2 separate regions of the Homo sapiens genome follow, and region 2 is linked to region 1. The links are contacts of gene promoters, found by promoter capture Hi-C in human tissues and cell types (Jung and others, 2019). All regions are on one chromosome and are shown on one strand. Each heading gives the region's core, a stretch centred on a gene start or on the middle of the fragment in contact. The rest is flanking DNA. Distances are from core to core; before and after follow the strand shown. Region 1 holds the start of DNAJC2 (DnaJ heat shock protein family (Hsp40) member C2). Region 2 overlaps FAM185A (family with sequence similarity 185 member A).

Region 1 (4,109 bases), core at 288-2,787:
GAAATTAGCTGGGCGTGGTGGCACGCACCTGTAATCCCAGCTACTCGGGAGGCTGAGGCAGGAGAATCGCTTGAACCTGGGAGGCAGAGATTGCAGTGAGCCGAAATCAGGCCACTGCACTCCAGCCTGGGCGACAGAGCAAGCCTCTGTCTCAGAAAAGAAAACAACAAAAAAACAAAAACCCATGTTAGAGTTAATGGTAAAATTGAATGGGAGGAGGTGTGAGGAAAAAAATATATTAATATGAAGAAAGTGGAGTCAGGTTACTTTGCACCTTGGAGCATGTTTTAACAGTGGTTGCATTAGTAGGGATCAGGAAGAGGTTTTGGGGCAGAAGATTAGTTCAATTTTTTTTTTTTTAAAGACGGGGTCTCACTGTTACCCAGGCTGGAGCGCAATGGTGTGATCTCAGCTCACTGCAACCTCCACCTCCCGGCCTCAACGATCTTCCCACCTCAGCCTCCCTTAGTTCAATTTTTGAAAAGTCAGTTTTGAAGTGACAATTTTATCATGCAGCAGATATACAGACCAATTAAATGTATTTAATTGGCCTGGCACAGTGACTCACGCCTCTAATCCCAGAGTTTTGGGAGACTGAGGCAGGAGGATCCCTTGAGGCCAGGAGTTCAAGACCACCTTGGGCAACATAGTGAGACCCTGTCTCTACAAAAAAAAATATACATATATATATATATAATATATTTAAAAACTTTAATTGTGAAAATATAATGAAATTAGTAAGTTATTTTCTAATTTACTAATTTCTGGTGGTCCTTGCTAAAGAGTGGCATATCAAGTTTATTTTATTGAACCTGTTTCAGATACTGCTGTTGGGGGTGAGCCTTTACCCACTGTTTGTTTTTGCTAGTTTTTGCTTTTGACTGCAGTCTTAGAAGGAAGCATATAGTAGGAATACAATTGATTTTATTATACATTAAAAAATTAAGTCCCAGAGTCCTATAATTGGGAATATCTTGAATAAAAACTTCATTAGAACAAGGTAAAAATATTGCTGGCCTTGGAATACAATCTAACACACTAGAGAGAGGTTTCTTCTCCAAGCGAGTATTAAAAGATATAATGCAGGTAAATTAGTAATAGCACGACAAATATTAGCTGCTATTATCATCATCAAGTTAAACACAAATGTATCACAAATACACGTACGTAATTCTCCGCAAATGTATATACTAGTCGTCGATACTGGTTCATACAGGTATTTTCATTTTTTACTTAAAAGTATAGCGCTCCTGGGAAAATCACTGATTAGGTTCAGATTAATACATAAAGCAGTAAGAACTTAAAGATAATATAAAAAGAACTGCTTTTAAAGGTTATGTTCTATGTATTGCACTGGGACGTGGAATATAATCCTTTTTACAGGAAAACTGATGCGCCTAGGAACCATTCTCTCGTGCGACTTGGTCTCCAGCCGGATCTCAGTCAGTATAGAACTAGGTTACCGCACACGTTGGCGGGGGTGGGAGGGTGTGAGACTGGCCTCCACACCACGAAAGATCCATCCCGGAAGTGCTTACTGGTCGTCTCCATGCGCCGGTTCCTGGGCGTCTTAGAGCCAAGGCGCGAGGCTCGGAGTGAGAGGTAGAGCTGGAGGGGACCCTAAGCGCCCTCCGCCCGGGACGTGAGCCGCTGCGCCCACCGGGCTAGACCCGGCGCCATCATGCTGCTTCTGCCAAGCGCCGCGGACGGCCGGGGCACCGCCATCACCCACGCTCTGACCTCTGGTAAGTGCCCACCCAACCTCGGTTCCTTCTCACCTCAGCTGCCCCTGCCTCAGTCCTCCGCCTCGGCAACCCTGGGCTCTCTCTACCCTTGACCCTGGCGACTAGCCCCGGGGCCGTATGGGGCCGTGACGAGTGCCTTTTTGCTCCGTGTTTTAAAGTAATCCTACCCTAGATTAGAAGGAAGGAGGGTGAGGGGTGCCTTCCTTTTGCTCCTACCGTTGCTTCCTCCTCTCGCCGCTGCTGACTCATGGATTGGGCTGAGCATTTCGGGACGGAACCCCCCAGCACCCCAGAAAGGTTCTCATAAGCATCTCCTTGCCTACGGTGGAAAGACTACGCGCAGCGAGCACCCCACGTGCCTGGGGTCGTACAAAGCTTTGCTACTGGCGCTCTCTTAAACAACTTTCTCCCTCTCTACGTTTGCTCCGGCCTTGTTTTTTAAATGTCACAACTCAGACACCGCTCCTCATACTCGGTGTTCAAAGACTGTGCTGCTGAAAAGATCCGCGTAGACTTTGAAAGGCAGTTATTACAAGTGAAACTTGTCCTGCTGCTGTAGGTTTTAGTTTTATGGCCCAGGACAGTCATGAGTATTGTAAACTTAAGAGTCTTCAGGTCCAGTGATCTACAGTAATTCCCATAGCCAGTCACATAGGCGCTTGTTGAATGTGATTTTGAACATAACCCATGGCACGTGTTGCATTTATGTGTCTCCGTGTGCCTCTTACAACTAGAGCAAAAGGCTTAAAAGGCAGTGTTCTTAAAAGCCACACACCCATACTACACAGGTAGTACCTTTTTGACAGTGTTTTAATCCTCTCCTGTGTAAGGTGGAGGAAATCTTAAAATAAGTTGTTCAGGGATTTTCCTTTTTTGAATTGCTAGTATACACATGTACAGTGATTTACCCCCACTTCCCAGGAATAGATGATACCTTTACTACAAGTTTGTAATTTCAGAGAGTTTCTGTGGTCTCATTCAAGCTTCCTAGGAACTGAATGAGATAAATAGGTATTGTTCCCATTTTACAGGTGAAGACATCCTGATTCATTTCAGGTCACATAGCCACTGTCAGACCTAGTCTAAAACCCAGAGTGTCTGGTTTCAGATTGAGAGCTTGTTCCACTACAGCTTAGCTGCATTAGTAAATTCCCATTTGCTGCTTGGAAAATTGCTTTCAGGACAAATTCTTGTTAGTGAATTCTTAAAATTTTTAAGAGCTATATTCAAGATTTTAATAATTAAGACAGTTTGAGTTGTCTGGGTGCGGTGGCTCACGTCTATAATCCCAGCACTTTGGGAGGCCGAGGCAGGTGGATCACCTGAGGTCAGCAGTTCGAGACCAGCCTGGCTAACAGGGTGAAACCCTGTCTCTACTAAAAATACAAAAAAGTAGCTGGGCGTGGTGGCGGGCGCCTATAATCCCAGCAACTTGGGAGGCTGAGGCAGAAGAATCGTTTGAACCCGGGAGGCGGAGGTTGCAGTGAGCCGAGATTGCGCTATTGCACTACAGCCTGGACAACAAGAGCAAAACTCCGTCTCAAAAAATAAAAAGATAGTTTGAGTTGTTTTTAGATTTTTTATTTTTGGTGAGGCTAGCTCTTCGTGACAATTTATCACTATTTATTACTTTATTAAAATTATTTGTCTAGGCCGGGCGCGGTGGCTCACGCCTGTAATCCCAGCATTTTGGCAGGCCGAGGTGGGTGGATCACGAGGTCAGGAGATCAAGACCATCCTGGCTAATATGGTGAAACCCCGTCTTTACTAAAAATGCAAAAAATTAGCCGGGGGTGGTGGCGGGTGCCTGTAGTCCCAGCTACTCGGGAGGCTGAGGCAGGAGAATCGCTTGAACCCGGGAGGCGGAGCTTTCAGTGAGCCAAGATCGCGCCATTGCACTCCAGCCTGGGTGACAGAGCAAGACTCCGTCCCAAAAAAAAAAAAAAAATTGTCCAGGTGGGTGCAGTGGCTCACGCCTGTAATGCCAACACTTTGGGAGGCCGAGGCAGGCAGATCACCTGAGGTCGGGAGTTCGAGACCAGGCTGACCAACATGGAGAAACCCCATCTCTACTAAAAATACAAAATTAGCTGGGCATGGTGGCGCATGCCTGTAATCCCAGCTGCTTGGAAGGCTGAGGCACAAGAATCACTTGAACCCGGGAGGTGGAGACGGCATTGAGCCGAGATCTCGCCATTGCATTCCAGCCTGGGCAGTAAGAGCAAAACTTCATCTCAAAAAAAAAAAAAAGTAAAAAAATAAATAATTTGTCTAAAAGTAAAGTAGTTTGCAACATTTCTTCCTGTTCCTCACCTTACTCATATCCCCAAAAAAGTACTGATTTATCATTGACATTACTGAGTT
Region 2 (3,729 bases), core at 1,230-3,729, 580 kb after region 1:
TACCACATTCTCTTTATCCAGTCCACCACTGATGGGCACATAGGTTGATTCCATGTCTTTGCTATTGTGAATAGAGCTGCAGTGAATATGTTGAGTGCATGTGTCTTTTTGGAAGAATGATTTATTTTCTTTTGTGTATATATCCAGTAATGGAATTGCTGGGTTGAATGGTGGTTCTGTTTTAAGTTCTTTGAGAAATCTTCAAACTGCTTTCCACAGTGGCTGAACTAATTTACATTCCCACCAACAGTGTATGAGTGTTCCCCTTTCTCCACAGCCTCGCCAGCGTCTGTTGTTTTTTTACTTATTTTTAATAATAGCCATTCTGACTGGTGTGAGATGATATCTCATTGTGGTTTTGATTTGCATTTCTCTGATGACTAGTGATTTGGAACAGTTTTTCATGTTTGTTGGTTTCTTGTACGTCTTCTCTTGAGAAATGAGCAAAATGTCCTGTCTTTTGCTCATTTTTAATAGGGTTATTAGTTTTTTGCTTATTGATTTGTTTAACTTCCTTGAAGATTCAAAGGAACAAAGGATATTAAACCTTTGTCAGATACAGAGTTTGCAAATATTTTCTCCCATTCTGTAGGTTGTCTATTTACTCTGTTCATAATTTCTTTTGCAGTGCAGAAGCTCTTTCATTTAATTAGATCCCAATGAGGCAAGTCTAGGAGGACAGGAATCACATCTTTCTTATTTAGCTTCATACCTGGGAACTTTGCACAGTGCATAGTACATAGTAAACACAATTATTTTGTGAACAAATAAAAAGTTTGGAAAAGTAGGTAAAGAGCAACCTGTGGTAGAACCACAGAGTGCTAAGTCTACTGACTATCCTACACCAAAAAAGTTAGTGAAGAATTTCAAGATGAATAAAAATACAAGAAAACCATGCTTTAAGGAGATTCACCTAGTGTGAGACAGTGGGTGTTTCCATACTCAGCATTCTCTTTACTGCTTGTTGTGGTTTGAACGTTCCCACAAAAGTTCATGTGTTGGAAACTTAGTCCCCAGTGCAGCAATACTATGAGGTGGGACCTTTGGGAGGTAATTGGGTCATGAGGGCTCTACCCTCATGAATGGATTAACCCATTCATGAATCAATGGATTAATGGGTCATAGAGGGAGTGGGTTAGCTATTACAAGAGTGAGTCTGTTATAAGAGCCAGTGTGGGTGTCTCTCATGCAGCCTCTCTCCATGTGAGGCCTGTGCCACTTCATGACTCTGCAGAGCCCCTATCCGCAAGAAGGCTCTCACCAGATGCGGCTCCTAGACCTCAGACTTCTCAGCCTCCAGAACTGTAATATATAAGCTTTATAAATCACTCAGTCTCAGGTATTCTGTTATAGCAACAGAAAACAGACTAAGACACTGCTCTACCTCCTGAACAATAAAAGATAGACAGGTCCCTGATATTCGTAACTTTATTAATAAAGAACTATGATAAAGTTTTACAGTCATTTAGCTAGTGAATCCAGTCACCCACTCATCAAGGCAATGGAGCTTTATAGTTTTACACTAGTCTTTAATAATGCAGTAAAAATTTACAATTTTTTTTAAAATAAAAATATGGTCTTTCTCAAAAAGCCAATCATTAGTGCTTGTCATGAAAGTGAGGAGGTCTTGAGAAAACAATGATTCTTTGAACCAGAAAAATAGAAGTTTTAGATCTATACAAAATGAGGATTAGTTAATTATAGTGGGACCTATAGAGTCTCAGATAACATTCTTCTTGAATGTTTGAGTTCTACTGTATACTAAAAGCATAATGGAGCAACAACAACAAAAACCCATGGAATTAAGGAATCATTTCAAATACTGTCTAGTTGTAAGTAACACTTCAAAATATTTTTGTCAACTCTAAATAAAACAGTAAACAAAAACTTATTTTCAACTCATATCAAAATATTTAGAAAATCTCTACCTTAAACAGAAATATTCTAAAGTCATTAGAAAACACAAAATGGATTTCTTCCTTCAAATGCATAGTGGAATAAAGTAGTATATTTAAAAGTATACCAAGCAACAAAATGGGCATTATTAGCAAAATTTTCTATATTTTGATTCCACCTACTTCATCTCCAAACACTGAAAATAATAAATTAATTATTTGAGAGGAGTAAATCTTAGTAAAAGCTTCTTTCCAATAAAGCAGACACCAGATGGTCTGTAATAACTATGTGTGCTTACCCTACTCTCAAGTTATATAAGTTTTCCACAAATCCCAGTATTTGAGAAAATAGATAGTTTTTCTTAGCTTGTAACCTTTCATTCTAGCATGGTCAGAGGAAAAAAAAATGTAATCAATTTAAAGATAAACATTGGTTTATTTTTCTTCACCAAAAGAAATGTGATTATGGTTCAAGCACATAGAACTCTTAAAATCCAAACAGAGTAATCAAGTATCCTTAAAGATTAAGTCATTTTGTGGTTTTTGGTGGGTAGGGGTGGGGAGGTGGAAAGGGAGACACTTGTATTTGCAAGCCACAGTGCTAAATGCTAAGAATATAGAGATGAATAAAACATAATCTTTGTTCTTGAGGAATTTATAATTAGGCAAGGATTTATAGAAAACCAGAGATGAGGCAAGATGCTTTAGCTGAGTACTGAAAGATTAAAAAAGTCAACAAGATTTTTAAAAAGCTAGGAAAAGCATTTCAGGCAGAATATAAACAGTATGATCAGTATGATCAAAGGCTCTGATCAAGAACTCAGAGGTATAAAACAGGTAAAAATGTATATAGGAAAAAAGACTAATTCTGGAAGACAAAGCATACAGTCAGAAGAGGGAAGAGGGAAGTTGGGCACGTCACTAAGGCAGTAGAAAACGGTCCGAATAAGAGAATGACATGTTCAATGTGCATTACTAATAAACTACTTTAGCTGCAGTGAGGAGAAATGGATCTGAAGAAGGCAAGGCTGGAGGCAAAGTTATTGCTAGTATCAAGGCAAGAGGTCAAGAGGGTCTAAAACAGAAGTGTAGAAATTAGCAGGAAAAAGGTGAGATAGATTGAAAAAATATTTAGGAGATAAAACCTGCCTAAACTTGGTAGTTGATTAGATGCAGGAGATGAGAGAGAAACAGGAAGTTAAGACCACTGCCAGATTTATAGCATGGGAATTGGGAACATGGCAATATCAGAAACAGCAAATAAAAACAAGGAAAGAGGACACATTACAGATGACGTTCAGGGACTGGGGAAGAAGGGAAAAAAGCAAGAAATGTTGAGTTCAAGATGTCTGTGAAGATCCAAATGGCTATGTCTACCTGCCAGATGGATGTATAAATTAGTCAGGGCTAGAGACATAGATTTGAATAATCAGATTTGAAACACCCTTGTAAGGGTAGTTCAGACTCAAAAGTATATAAGATGCCCTAGGAAAATATGTAGAGAAAGAACAATAGGACAAGGATGAAATCCTGGAGAATACCAATTATCACAGAGGTGGAAAGAGAAGGAATATAGAGACATTTGTGAAAGAGCAATTATAAATATATGATAGAGACTGCCAGTGTCCATTAATATTTGTGTGCCTCTCTTCTTCCATAAAAGTACTGCTAAACTACATATCTCAGCCTTTGCAGTTAGGTAAAGCCATTTGAAAATATTTTGTCCAAAGATCTATGGGCAGAAGTAATATATGCACTTCTAGGCCTGGTTTCTGAAACTTCTTCCATGATCCTCTGTGCTGTCTCATTTTTCATGGAAGACTTGGAAGCCACA

Evidence for each region. The method cuts DNA at HindIII sites, captures the fragments that hold promoters and counts their contacts. A contact is called where the count stands out against the background at its distance.
Region 2: a contact is called between a fragment that was not itself captured here and the fragment with the promoter of DNAJC2 in region 1, in 1 of the 25 tissues and cell types used here (lymphoblastoid cells).

Annotation. Positions count from the first base shown.
Region 1 is chr7:103,342,195-103,346,303 of GRCh38, reverse strand. It overlaps DNAJC2 (DnaJ heat shock protein family (Hsp40) member C2), which reads left to right and starts at 1,537. Exons shown (of 17, transcript NM_014377.3): 1 at 1,537-1,745. The coding sequence starts at 1,682. It also overlaps a transcript of PMPCB not described here. RefSeq lists an enhancer at 1,355-1,594. The HindIII fragment of the contact is 6,679 bases long and covers 1-2,424 here.
Region 2 is chr7:102,767,271-102,770,999 of GRCh38, reverse strand. The region is part of intron 4 of FAM185A (family with sequence similarity 185 member A); the gene reads right to left. Among named protein-coding and RNA genes, the nearest start is that of FAM185A, 20 kb to the right of the region's middle. The HindIII fragment of the contact is 4,026 bases long and covers 467-3,729 here.